Regions from separate parts of the Homo sapiens genome. Here all the other regions are linked to region 3. The links are contacts of gene promoters, found by promoter capture Hi-C in blood cells and fetal thymus (Javierre and others, 2016). All regions are on one chromosome and are shown on one strand. Each heading gives the region's core, a stretch centred on a gene start or on the middle of the fragment in contact. The rest is flanking DNA. Distances are from core to core; before and after follow the strand shown. Region 1 holds the start of MED9 (mediator complex subunit 9). Region 2 overlaps PEMT (phosphatidylethanolamine N-methyltransferase). Region 3 holds the start of TOM1L2 (target of myb1 like 2 membrane trafficking protein).

What was found. The method cuts DNA at HindIII sites, captures the fragments that hold promoters and counts their contacts. A CHiCAGO score of 5 or more calls a contact.
Region 1: a contact is called between the fragment with the promoter of MED9 here and the fragment with the promoter of TOM1L2 in region 3, in 12 of 17 cell types (non-activated CD4 T cells, total B cells, naive CD8 T cells and 9 more). The highest score is 10.9, in non-activated CD4 T cells.
Region 2: a fragment that was not itself captured here is called in contact with the fragment with the promoter of TOM1L2 in region 3 in 1 of 17 cell types (fetal thymus); the score reaches 5.1 in fetal thymus.

The regions. Positions count from the first base shown.
Region 1 is chr17:17,474,992-17,479,339 of GRCh38, forward strand. MED9 (mediator complex subunit 9) reads left to right here and starts at 2,009. Exons shown (of 2, transcript NM_018019.3): 1 at 2,009-2,274. The coding sequence starts at 2,051. RefSeq lists an enhancer at 2,013-2,112. The HindIII fragment of the contact is 9,122 bases long and covers 778-4,348 here.
Region 2 is chr17:17,587,653-17,591,572 of GRCh38, forward strand. PEMT (phosphatidylethanolamine N-methyltransferase) reads right to left here. Exons shown (of 7, transcript NM_148172.3): 1 at 3,879-3,920. Among named protein-coding and RNA genes, the nearest start is that of PEMT, 2.1 kb to the right of the region's middle. RefSeq lists enhancers at 3,501-3,920, 3,808-3,920. The HindIII fragment of the contact is 969 bases long and covers 2,155-3,123 here.
Region 3 is chr17:17,969,918-17,973,649 of GRCh38, forward strand. TOM1L2 (target of myb1 like 2 membrane trafficking protein) reads right to left here and starts at 2,483. Exons shown (of 15, transcript NM_001082968.2): 1 at 2,345-2,483. The coding sequence starts at 2,396. It overlaps DRC3 (dynein regulatory complex subunit 3), which reads left to right and starts at 2,945. Exons shown (of 14, transcript NM_031294.4): 1 at 2,945-3,057. RefSeq lists enhancers at 1,976-2,545, 2,917-3,236 and a silencer at 2,187-2,236. The HindIII fragment of the contact is 5,656 bases long and covers 1-3,250 here.

The DNA of each region.
Region 1 (4,348 bases), core at 759-3,258, 500 kb before region 3:
AATTCAAACCCACTTTAACATTTTGAATCATAAAGTTACAGAACTGGTAGGGATCCGAAGTCTCTTTAGTGTTGGTTAAGATCATAGACTTGGCATCAGCAACTGCGTTGACCCTTAGGCTGGGATCTTAACCATTGTAAGTCTTGGTTTTCTCATCTAGAAAATGGGGATCCTGACATCCATCTTCTAGACCTCTGTCTGTGGATTGAGACAGTGACTGTAACTCTGTTCCCTGTATCTACTTTTACTCCATGGTAGTTGTGGTAATTACTATTATTATTACTATTACTATATCATCTTTCCCCAGATGACTCCAAGGGTATACAGTCTCTTCAAGCACATCTGGCCTTTTTCTCCTCCATGCTCAACCAGAACTCTTGAACTTTCCCTTAGTTGGAGAGGTCAATGGTTAGAAGGAAGAAAACTCCGCAACCCACTCCCTCCCTTTGCTCTCTCTCTGGGGCACCGTGGGCAGCTCTTGCTGCAGAGAGCTGTGCTGAGGCCCTTTACTACAGAACCTGTACAGCGCACCCTCCAACAGCACTTCCATCTATGGTCCTACTCCCCAAGGATCTGCCTCCGCACAGCCCTCCCAATGTGCCTGAAAATATCAGCATTGATCCTTTCCCTGGCCACCTTGCTCTTAAGGCTCCTGTTCATCATGCTATGTGGATGTGGACCTCCTCGCCTCTCTGTACTGCCCATGATGGTGGATTACAGCAGAATGGGCTCACCAGTTGACAGCTTTCCCCACTCATGTCTTCTACTCACTAGCTAAGCTTGGGGTGGGTGTCCCCATTGCCCGGAAAATTACTACACAGCCCTCATATCAAACTTGTTTTGAGAAGCATAACCATAAACCCATCTTTGGCCTATGATCCTAGGGAGTCCTCATGCCAACAAGACCTTTTGGGGTCAGCCACGCATGTGAAGTTAGAATGCAGTTTAGGCTGTGCCATGAATCTGAACTAAATATGATTTTAGGGGTGAGGAAACTGGGACCTAGGGGCTTGGGGAACTGGCCCGAAGGTATGGAGAGTACCTGACCTTGTCGTTCTTCCAGGATATGATATTTACTCCTGGCACCAATCCCCTCTACCTTGTACTGAAAGCAAGGACAGCCTGCCTGCAACCACACATACAGGTGGCCATCCAGCAGGTGCATACTAAATGTGTGTTGAGTTGAATTATTAGACTCTTTCTAAGCAACCTTGCAGCATTGAAGGGACCGCAATCCCTTTGCCTCTGCGTCCTTAGGGCTAAACTCGAGGTCTCGATGTCTTGCACTGTGGGCTGGGCCGGGTTTGGTGCCTCACCCAGCAGGTAAGTGCTGTCTACGCCTCCCACAGGTCCAGTGGCTCCTCTCCAGACTTGGGTGCACTGGGCCAGGCTGCACCTTACTAATCTCAAGGCTTCCTGTGTTTGTGGCTTTGGGGCCCTCTTCATCGTGTGAATAGGAATAAGAAGATTGTTATTTCTGGCCGGGTGCAGTGGCTCACGCCTGTAATCCCAGCACTTTGGGAGGCCGAGACGGGCGGATCACCTGAGGTGGGGAGTTCGAGACCAGCCTGATCAACATGGAGAAACCCCGTCTCTACTAAAAATATAAAATTAGCCGGGCGTGGTGGTGCATGCCTGTAATCCCAGCTACTAGGGAGGCTGAGGCAGGAGAATCGCTTGAACCCGGGAGGCGGAGGTTGCGGTGAGCCGAGATCGCGCCACTGCACTCCAGCCTGGGCAACAAGAGCGAAATTCCGTCTCAAAAAAAAAAAAAAGATTGTTATTTCTGAAATAAACCCCTATTTCTCACTATTTAATAATTTAGCAATCTTGACTCACAATCCAAATCCAGGCACCCCAGACCCACCCACGGCCCGTTGCCTAGCAACAGCCTCCCCACCCCCGCCTCCGCGCCTTTTCCCGCCGACTGCCCAGTGCGCACGCTCAGAGCCTTCCTCCACACCCCGCCCCTGCAGGGCGCGCGGTGGTGACGTGTAGAGTGCGCGACGCTTTTGGCGACCCGACCTCTGGCTAACCTACCCCCGGAGCCATGGCCTCTGCTGGGGTGGCAGCCGGGCGACAGGCGGAGGATGTATTGCCGCCAACGTCCGACCAGCCGCTGCCTGACACCAAGCCGCTGCCGCCTCCTCAGCCGCCGCCGGTCCCTGCGCCTCAACCGCAGCAGTCGCCGGCGCCACGGCCTCAGTCACCTGCCCGCGCGAGGGAGGAAGAGAACTACTCCTTTTTACCTTTGGTTCACAACATCATCAAATGGTAAGAACCTAGGAGAGGACCAGGCCCCATACTCCCTCCAGCTTCTCCTCTCAGCCGTTTCAGAGCTGCAAGAGGCCTTGGCGCTCTGGGGCACGCCCCCGTTTCACAGATGGGGAAACTCAGACCCAGAGCGGGAAGAGGCCTTTCCCAAGACCACAGAGACATTCCATGAGTTAAGCAAACGATTTGAGCCTCGAGAGGTGCGATATCCTTAAGAATGAAGCCAGCTTAGAGACTAAATGCAGACTCTTGTCCAGCGGCTCAAATGTTCATCCCAGCGATCTTGAGCAAATTAAATCTCTTTAAGCCTCAGTTTTCTCACCTTTAATGTTGGTAATACTCACTTTAGTTCCTTAGTTCAGCAAACTCAACAGATAAGCATCATCTTCCCTGTGCCAAGTGCTACGGGATGGACGCAGTAAAAGGGGCCAACTTTTCACCCCCAAAGGTTTAGATAGAAGGAAAAAAAGACATGATTGGGAATAACCCACAATTCAAAAAGATTGAGACGGGAGTGGTGGCGATGGGAAACATTAGACTAAGCAGAAACACAGAAGTTGCCTCAGATGATTAGACCCACTTGTACTGACTTTGTTCTAACAGTACCAAAGGAAATAATTGTTGTCATCCTTTTGGCCAGCCTTCAGGGTAGCCTGAGTTTTCAAAGTGACTCTGTAGAGGAAAAACCAAAAACAAAAACACAAAAGTCTCACTGATCCTTATGTTTGCCTAAATTATTATTTTTTTTGAGAGAGGGTCTCGCTCTGTCACCCAGACTGGAGTACAGTGGCGTGATCTCGGCTCACTGCAGCCTCAACCTCCTGGCCTCAAGCCATCCTCCCACCTCATCCTCCCAAGTAACCGGAACCACAGGCATGAGCCATGGCACCCAGCGAATTTTTGTATTTTTTGTAGAGATGGAGTTTCACCATGTTGCCCAGGCTGTAAATTATTTTCATTATGTTACTTCACTGTATATCCACGTGATACTAGGTGTAAACCCCTAGGCTTGTAACTCTTACTCAACCATTAAAGACCAAAACAAAGTAAATTAAAAGAAAATTACGATTCCAGTAACATTCAGGTGAACATGAATGTGCTCTTCACTGTTTTACTGAAATGGAATTGTTACAACGTGAAGGTCTTGACTGTTAGTGGCCCACCCACTTTTGAGTTTAAGCAAATTAGATTCACTTGCTGTGGGATGACCTGATGCTCTTCTGCCACTTTTCAAATAACTACAAAGGCTTTGTTCTCACATTAGACCCTGGCTTCATTTGGTTTCACTTGGTGTTTAAATACTGTTTATAGGGGCCAGGCATGGTGTCTCATGCCTGTAATCCCAGCACTTTGGGAGGCCAAGGCGGGCGGATCACGAGGTCAGAGTTTGAGACCAGCCTCGTCGACATGGCAAAACCCCATCTCTACTAAAAACACAAAAATTAGCCGGGTGTGGTGGCGGCTGCCTGTAATCCCAGCTACTCAGGAGGCTGAGGCAGGAGAATCACTTGAACCCGGGAGGTGGAGGTTGCAGTGAGCCGAGATCATGCCATTGCACTCCAGCCTGGGCAACAAGAGCAAGACTCTGCCTCAAAAAAAAAAAAAAAGTAATGCTTATAGGATAAGGCAGCCTATTCAGTTTTCGTGAGCCTGTGATAATGATCATAGACAGAAATACATATGGAGCCCCTGTAATCCTAGGGCAGTGCTGGATTATAAAGGGTTTATTCTGATTAACCCTAGTTTACTGGTTTTAAGAAAAATGTGGAAAAATGAAAACACAAAATGTACACATTCACAAGGACAGCTCTTGAACTCCCCAAGAGTATATTCTTGAGCCCTGGTAGAGCAGCTGGGTTGGGTTGGCCTTAAAAGATGTAGTAGTAAGTTATACTAGAGAGAACAGGCTTTGAAGTTAGACAGCCCTGTGTTCAAATCTGTGTACTGACATTTTCTTGCCTTCTAATCTTGATATAAATGCCTAACCTTTCTAGGCCATAATCTTCTTATCTCTAATATGTCCATAGTGGACCTCAAAAGAGAGGTTCAGATTATGTCATAGCTCTATAATGTG
Region 2 (3,920 bases), core at 1,389-3,888, 380 kb before region 3:
AGGAGTTTGAGACCAGCCTGGCCAACAACCCTGTCGCTACTAAAAATACAAAAAACAAAACAAAACAAAACAAAAACCAGGTGTGGTGGTAGGTGCACCTGTAATCCCAGCTACTCGGGAGCCTGAGGTGGGGGAATTGCTTGAACTCGGGAGGCGGAGGTTGCAATGAGCTGGTATCACGCCACTGCATTCCTGAGTACATGCCTGAGCAACAGAGCGAGACTCTGTCTTAAAATAAATAAATTAATTAAATCAAATGAAACCAGATAAAGAAAGAAGATCCCCCCAAAAATTAGAGCAAATCAAATCCAGCAATATATACAAAGGATAATATGTTAGGACCAGCCAGAGATCACCCCAGGAATCCAGAGCTAGTTCAACATTCAAAACATCAATGGAATTCATATTTACAGCTTAATGAGGAAAAACAGTGTCATCTCAACAGAGGCAGGGGAAACAAGCTCCAAGAGTTTCTGTCATTGTTTTGATGAGCAGCCACGGAAAGCCTCAACCCTGCTCTGTCTTGGCTGATGCCAAAATTACTGAAGACAAAATGTACGGCCTTGAAAACACCACAGAGTAACTCATCTAATATAACGGCCTAATGTTTATTTCAACTAAAGTAATACAATCAAAAGATTTTTGGAAACGATTTTGGATAAAGGCAAACATTTTTCCCTGAAAGGCAGTCAAGATACCCCGCATCGGCCATCGGAGCTTTGCCTCCAGGGTCTTACTCGGGTGCCCATATTACACACAGGGACCTGTGTCCCCTGCCCCAGGTCTCTCAGCCTTCTGAATACAAGGGCTTTGCCTTCTTGAGGACCACCCTTAGGTGGGCTGCACTCGATACTTCATAAAGCTTTACACCCCTCATCTCATTCTGGTCTTCACCATAACCCCCTCACTGTCCCCATTCTTCTTGACACCAACACCAAGCTGGAGACATCATCACTCACCCGCTCTGGTGAGCAGGTGATTCGCTATGGAAAAGGGACCTGAGACCTGGGCATGTGCCCTTGCTCTGAGGACCTCAGTGTGCTCTGCCAGCCTGGGTGCCCGCACCCCTAGGCCCTACTGGAGTCATCTTCTGAATCCTGGAGGTGCCCCGGCCTGTGGACAGCAAGATGCAGACCCTGCTCTCATCCATCTGCCACCCCACTGCCTTCAGGCAGCTGCCCAGCTGAGGAGCAAGGCTCCAGAATCCTGACAGGGAGGGCAACAAGGAGCAAAAGGGCCTTAGTCAGTGGGGCTGCAGCGGGCACACTCCTCACCCTAACTCCTCAGCCCAATGGCTGATTCTTTGGGTTGTTTGTTTTTGTTTTGAGACAGAGTTTCGCTCTTCTAGCCCAGGCTGGAGTGCAATGGCGTGATATCAGCTCACTGCAACCTCCACCTACGGGGTTCAAGTGATTCTCCTGCCTCAGCCTCCCGAGTAGCTGGGATTACAGGCATGTGCCGCCACGCCTGGCTAACTTTTTATATTTTTAGTAGAGATGGGATTTCTCCATGTTGGTCAGGCTGGTCTCAAACTCCCGACCTCAGGTGATCCACCTGCTTTGGCCTCCCAGAGTGCTGGGATTACAGGCGTGAGCCACCGTGCCCAGCCCCAACAGCTGATTTTTTTTTTTTTTTTTTTAAAAACAAAAGCAAGATTCTGTACCTGCTGAAGCAGGCCCAGAAAAGAGCTGGTGGAGGGCATGGTACCCAGAGCAGCACTGTTTGGTATGACATGGCAGCCACTGGTCACAGGCAGTGCCACAAGCTTGGAATGCCACAGGACAAAATATGTCTGATATATATTTTGGTAACAATAAAATATATTGTCAAAATTATTTTTCTATTTCTTTGCTATTTTCCATTTCTTCTCACTAATTTAACATGGCTACTAGAAAGGTTTAAATTATGCATGTGGCACACGATGTTTCTACTGGACAGCACAGCAGCACAGGGCTAGCACCGGAGATCCTGCAGCTCAGACGCCCATGGGGTGAACAAAAACCTTGCAACTCTCCCAGGCCAGGGACTGACATATTTTAAAACCGGAGATTTTGATTGAGGAGGGAGTAGAGCTACCACATAAGCAAATATGTAATGTTGTATGTTGTATGTTTCTTTCTTTCTTTCTTTAAGAAAAATCCCTTGGCAACAGGAAGCTTAACTGCACCAACAAGGACAGCAGAAGAAAAGCAGAATGTTAGTCAACAAGGGTCACCCTGACCCGAACCCCAGCCCCAGCTCTCTCCAGCTGCACAGCCCTGGGGAGAAAGGAGAAAGAGCAGAGAAGCCCACCCCTCACACACCCGGTTAGTCTCCCCTGCCCACTGGCAGGCCCTGGGGCAGGCCCCTAGATGGGTCTGCAAAGGGACACTGCCCCCTTGCATTCTGCCCCCCCTTCTACATGGCTCCCCCACCCACCCTTCTACACGGTGGCTTCTGAGGGCAGCCCCTGGAGGTGATCATGACCCCCCATCTTGATCTGAGGATTAACAGATACAGGTTCACCTGGTGAAAATGCAGGAGCTGTAGGGGTAGGACCCATCACTCATCTGACTGCATGTTGTAATTCAATGGACAGTTTACTAAAGTAATAGTCTTCTTCCTGTCCTCTGCTGAGCACCCATCTGGCCAACGGTCCTGCGCTCCCTCAGGGCCAGCGGCCCATCTCCTCCTGTGCCTCCTGGAGGGCTTCGCAACTGCCTCCCTCCTCTGGGGAATCTTGCCCCACTGACTGACCTTTCGGCTCTCAGATCCCAGGTCCCTCCCTCGCAGATACGGCAACAGGCTCTCTTGGGATTTCAATCCCGCCTTCCCATCAGCTACTCTTCAAAACACTAACTGGTATTAGCTCCTTCAGAGAACTCTCTGGCTTTCCAGGCCTACAATCTCCCTCCCTAGAATGAAAGCTCAGTGACAGAAGTGCCCTTAAACTTCTGAGTGACACGAGGCCCTCAGCCGGCCCTGAATCAATACTGGCTGGATCAGTGAGTGAATAAATGCACATGTGAGTAAGGAATGAAGGGAGCGAAAGAACTGGATTAGAAGCTGCTTGGGGCAGAGATGTGCCTTACAGGCTTCATGAAGAGTGGGTGATGAAAAAGGTAAATGGAGCATCTAAGAGGAAGCTTTGATAGAAGGGAGAATGCAAGAGAGGTTGGAAATTGGAATCCATTGGAATTGGGAGCCTGGGGAGATGCCAGGACAGGCACTCTCTGGCCTAGGACTCTGCAGAGGGCAGCCTCAGCAGGCAAGCCAGGCCCCCAGCTTCTGGGGCCGGTCGCACCCATTATGGCCCCGAAACGGCTGGGTGGTGGTCTGCAGCCTGCCCAGGGCCGGCTGGGAGACAGGCAGGGTCCCCACCACTCTCTTGCCTCTGGGCAAAAGCTGGCCTCCTGACCCTGGGGGATGGACGGGAGCAGGGGCCACACAACACACTCCCAAACATATAATCGGCCTCCTTCACCCTCGCCCACGCTCAGTCACACACAGCCTCGGTCATACACACTCACACTCACTCTCCGGCACACTCTCAGAGCATCACATAATTTCAGTGAGACACAATCCCAAAGACTAACACGGACAACCTCTGAGTCTCACACAATCTCAGGGCCACACACAGGCACACAATCAGACGAGCTCAGGAACGCCCCCGTCTCTGACACACGCAATCTGAGGTTTACACGCGCGCGCACACGCACACACACAGACACCAGCCGGCGCTCCCGCACGCGGCTCCCCCACCCCCGCCACGCCACGCCCCCATTGCCTGGGAACTGGCGGCCCCGCCCCGCAGCGTTTGAGGCGCCGCAAGCCTTCACGCCCCTCGGGCCTTGCAGATCCCTCTCCCAGTTTCCGCGGCGGTCCGGTGCGGTCAGTACCTGTCTAAAATCAATATTGCCGAGGCCTCCGCAGCAGTCAGG
Region 3 (3,732 bases), core at 1,233-3,732:
ATTTTCTGGGGTCACACAGCCAAGAAATGGGGGCCAGGTCAAAATTCAACTTAGGTCTCCCTGACAGAAGTATCAAGCTCTTTCCACTTGCTATATATCCCTATATCTCTTATATTTGGTTTTTTGTTGTTGTTGTTGTTGTTTGTTTGTTTTTTGAGACAGAGTCTCACTCTGTCGCCCAGGCTGGAGTGCAGTGGCACAATCTCAGCTCACTGCAAACTCCGCCTCCCGGGTTCAAGCAATTCTCCTGCCTCAGCCTCCCGAGTAGCTGGGACTACAGGCGCATGCCACCACGCCTGGCTAATTTTCTTTTTTTTTTTGGATTTTTAGTAGAGACGGGGTTTCACCGTGTTAGCCAAGATGGTCTCGATCTCCTGACCTTGTGATCCGCCCGCCTCAACCTCCCAAAGTGCTGAGATTACAGGCGTGAGCCACCGCACCCAACCACATTTGTATTTTAAATCCCCTTTAACTTCTACCCCTCATTTACTACCTTGTCATTTTAAAGGTGTAGAGCTTCCTATTATAAAGGGGACAGAAAGGAAAACAATTCTCGCAAGTTTTCTGGCTCCCTCCATTAACTGGCTGGAAATTAGTTTTTGGAGTGTGGCTGCCATGCAAGAGCACCTGAAGAGAGTGGAAAAGGACATGGGGAAGAAGTAAGGAAGTGAGAATCCAGAGACTCTCCAGTGGGCAGCAAGAGACAAGATGTCAAAAAGGTGGGAAAACACTCTTTTGGGGTCCCTCATGCATTATAAAAGATACTACGCCAGAAAGTAAAGAAAGGCTCCTAAATGCTAATTAGCCAACAGGAGAGACCTCAATAAGTTTATAGGCTCCACTAAAGGCTGGAAAGTAAGCTAAAATTTCATAAGCAAAGCAGAAAATAAACAAATCACTACTGCTGAAATCAGGCCCATAAGAACACCAAAGATCCTGGCTCATAAAAGACGTTTTACCAGTCCTTCAACCAACCAGGAGGAATCCAGTTTTCAAACAAACTAATCAGCATTCTTGACTGATCAAGTGGCATAAGCCACTGCCTTGGGTAAAAAGGCAAGTTGCTTTCTTAGTAAGGAAGTCCCATATGGTGGCCATTTCAGTATTCCTTTACCTACACTTTGGGCTTTCCTTATCCATGATTCTGGCCATCTCTGGTGTCCCCAGGTGTCCACATCCCCCCTATAGGATTAACAGATAATGCTGAGTACCATTCTCTCTACATTGCCAACAAAAGATTTCAGCTTTGGTAAACTTAATATGAGGTGGGGGAGGAAGCAACAGTCAATGTGCAGAGTACTACAAAGAATATCAAAACTTGAGAACTTTAAGGGATCTATCACATCTCATCTCCAAACACTTTGACAGACAGGGGAACTTCAAACCAGAAAGGGCACAAGGTCATATGGAGTCACTGACAAAACCACTGCTAGAGTCCAGGCTTCCATGATTCCCAGTCCAGGGCTCTTATCATTAAATAACACAGCCTCCCTTCTTTCCTGGGAGGCACTGCAGGCATGCCATCCCCCTGCCAAGATAATCACCCTCCAAGAGCCCCTCCTCCTATCCCAGTCCCTCCTACAGCACAGCTGAGTTGCAGCTCAAATTAGCAAGTCCCGGAGCAGGGGGCATTTCTGGGAGGGTGCCCAGTCTGAGGGTTGCTGGTACCGAAGAGGAGGGACAAAGATGGAGAAGAAGGTGACATCCCACAAAGGGTTTGGGAGAACTGGGTCCTTGGGGCAGTGGCAGTGAGCCTGCTGGGCTGGATAAAGACACATGCAGTGGCATCTCCCAAAGCGCATTGGGGAAGCAGACCAGCAGTTGGCACCACCTCTAGCAGCAAAAGGAAGGGCTGAGCCTTGATGGGCAGGGAAGCCTGGGGCATCTCCGAGTCCAAGTTGGGCCTCAGGGGTGCCTCCTGGCAGAGTGGCACTGGCGCGCCCGTGAGGTGGCACCAGTGCCCGGGAGGAGGCCCGAGGACACAGATGCCCTGCCTGCCCGTGGGATAGCACCGGCACCCGGCGAAGGCCCAGCCCCCCCGGGAGGTGGCACCGGCGCCCGGCGAACGCCCGACGACCAGGATGCCCAACCCGCCCGTGAGGTGGCACCGACGCCCAGTGAAGGCCAGACGACCAGGATGCCCAGCCCGCCCGTGAGGTGGCACAAGCGCCCGGCAAAGGCCCGACGACCAGGATGCCCAGCCCGCTCGTGGAGTGGCACCCGCGGCTGGCGGAGGCCCAGCCCGCTCGTGAAGTGGCACCGGCGCCCGGCGGAGGCCCGCGGTCCTCACCAGCCGGATCAGCGGCCGCCGTTGCCCAGCCTCCTGCCCCACACGCGGCCTTACCGAGGCACTGCCCCACTGGTGTGCTGAACGGGTTCCCCAGGAGGAACTCCATCTTGGGTGGACAACACGCAGCGGCCCGGGCCCCCTGTCTGCCACCTAGGCCTCCGCTGTAACCCGCCGGACTCCCGTCCTGACTGACACTTGCCCCCTCCCCACTCTCTGGAACGCCGAGCTTAGGGCCTTTGGCCCCGCCCCCTTGCCGCGTCTCTATTGGGGGACACCTACGAAGCCCGCCTCCTATTGGTCGTTACACCTCTGTCAGCAAAGCCCCCACCCACCCCGCAGCGTCCGATTGGGCGGAGGAGCGAGCTAGGTCACCGGAGTCCCTGTCAGCCGTGGCGGCACCTCCCCTGGCCCGCCCCCAAAGGGGAAGCTGCGCATTTTGATTCCTCTGTATATTGGTCAATCTAAAGGATTCTTACTATTATTGGACAAAAGACGAGTCAATCACGCAAATGGACGGAACAGAGGTGAATCTAGGAATATCCCCGCCCATAGAAAGTACTGATTGGAGAAACATTTGTTTTCTCTACGGCTGGTTGGTGTAAGGAGTGTTTCACCACACGGAGATGTGGTCACGTGACTTGTCAACTTTCACCCAGGATGTCTCCCTTCTGACTTCCCCTTAGCAACCAAGTCGCGGCGCTTGGTTCCCCAGCAACCGGGAGACGCGTCTGCTGCGTGGAACCGCCGAGTTCCCAGCGCTTGAGAAGGTGAGACCTGGGAGCTGAGGCTCCCGGAGGACTTGCAGGGACAGATAGTGCCCGACGTAACTCTTTCCTGTGACCTTTTTCTCGGAGAACGCCGGCCCGGCCCTTCTCATTTATAAAATGAGCACGTAGGTCCTCTCCCAGCCACTTTACAGTCGTGTGAGACAGCCAAGACACTTTAGTCCTGGGCTTGTCAAGCTTTTGAATAAAAAAAAAAAAAAATACTAAGGAAGCATTTCCCGAGGGAGCAGGGCCAGAATGGATTTTTAAGGGGTTCCGTCTTCCAGCCTCCTTTCATAGAAAGAGAGGTACCCGGTCCACTGATAACTTTTCCCAGAATTTAGCCATCATAACTGACCTCATAACTATCAAATGATTTCATCTTGGTACTGTATATACCGCTTTGGATGTGAATACGGCTACTCAAGTTCTGTATCCGTCTCTGTCAGTAACTCATTGTACGACTTTGGACAAGTTCCTTTACCTCCCTGGAGCCTCAGGTTCCCTAGCTGGGAAATAAGGGCATTAGGACTCCCTTTTTATGGCCTCCGGAGCTTACATGTACTTAAATAATGCATGTGCACTGAGCACACAGTAAGCATTCAGTAAGTGATTGATTTTATTCTTTTTTAAGAAAAATTTTGTTCATTATTTATTTATTTATTTATTTTTTATTTT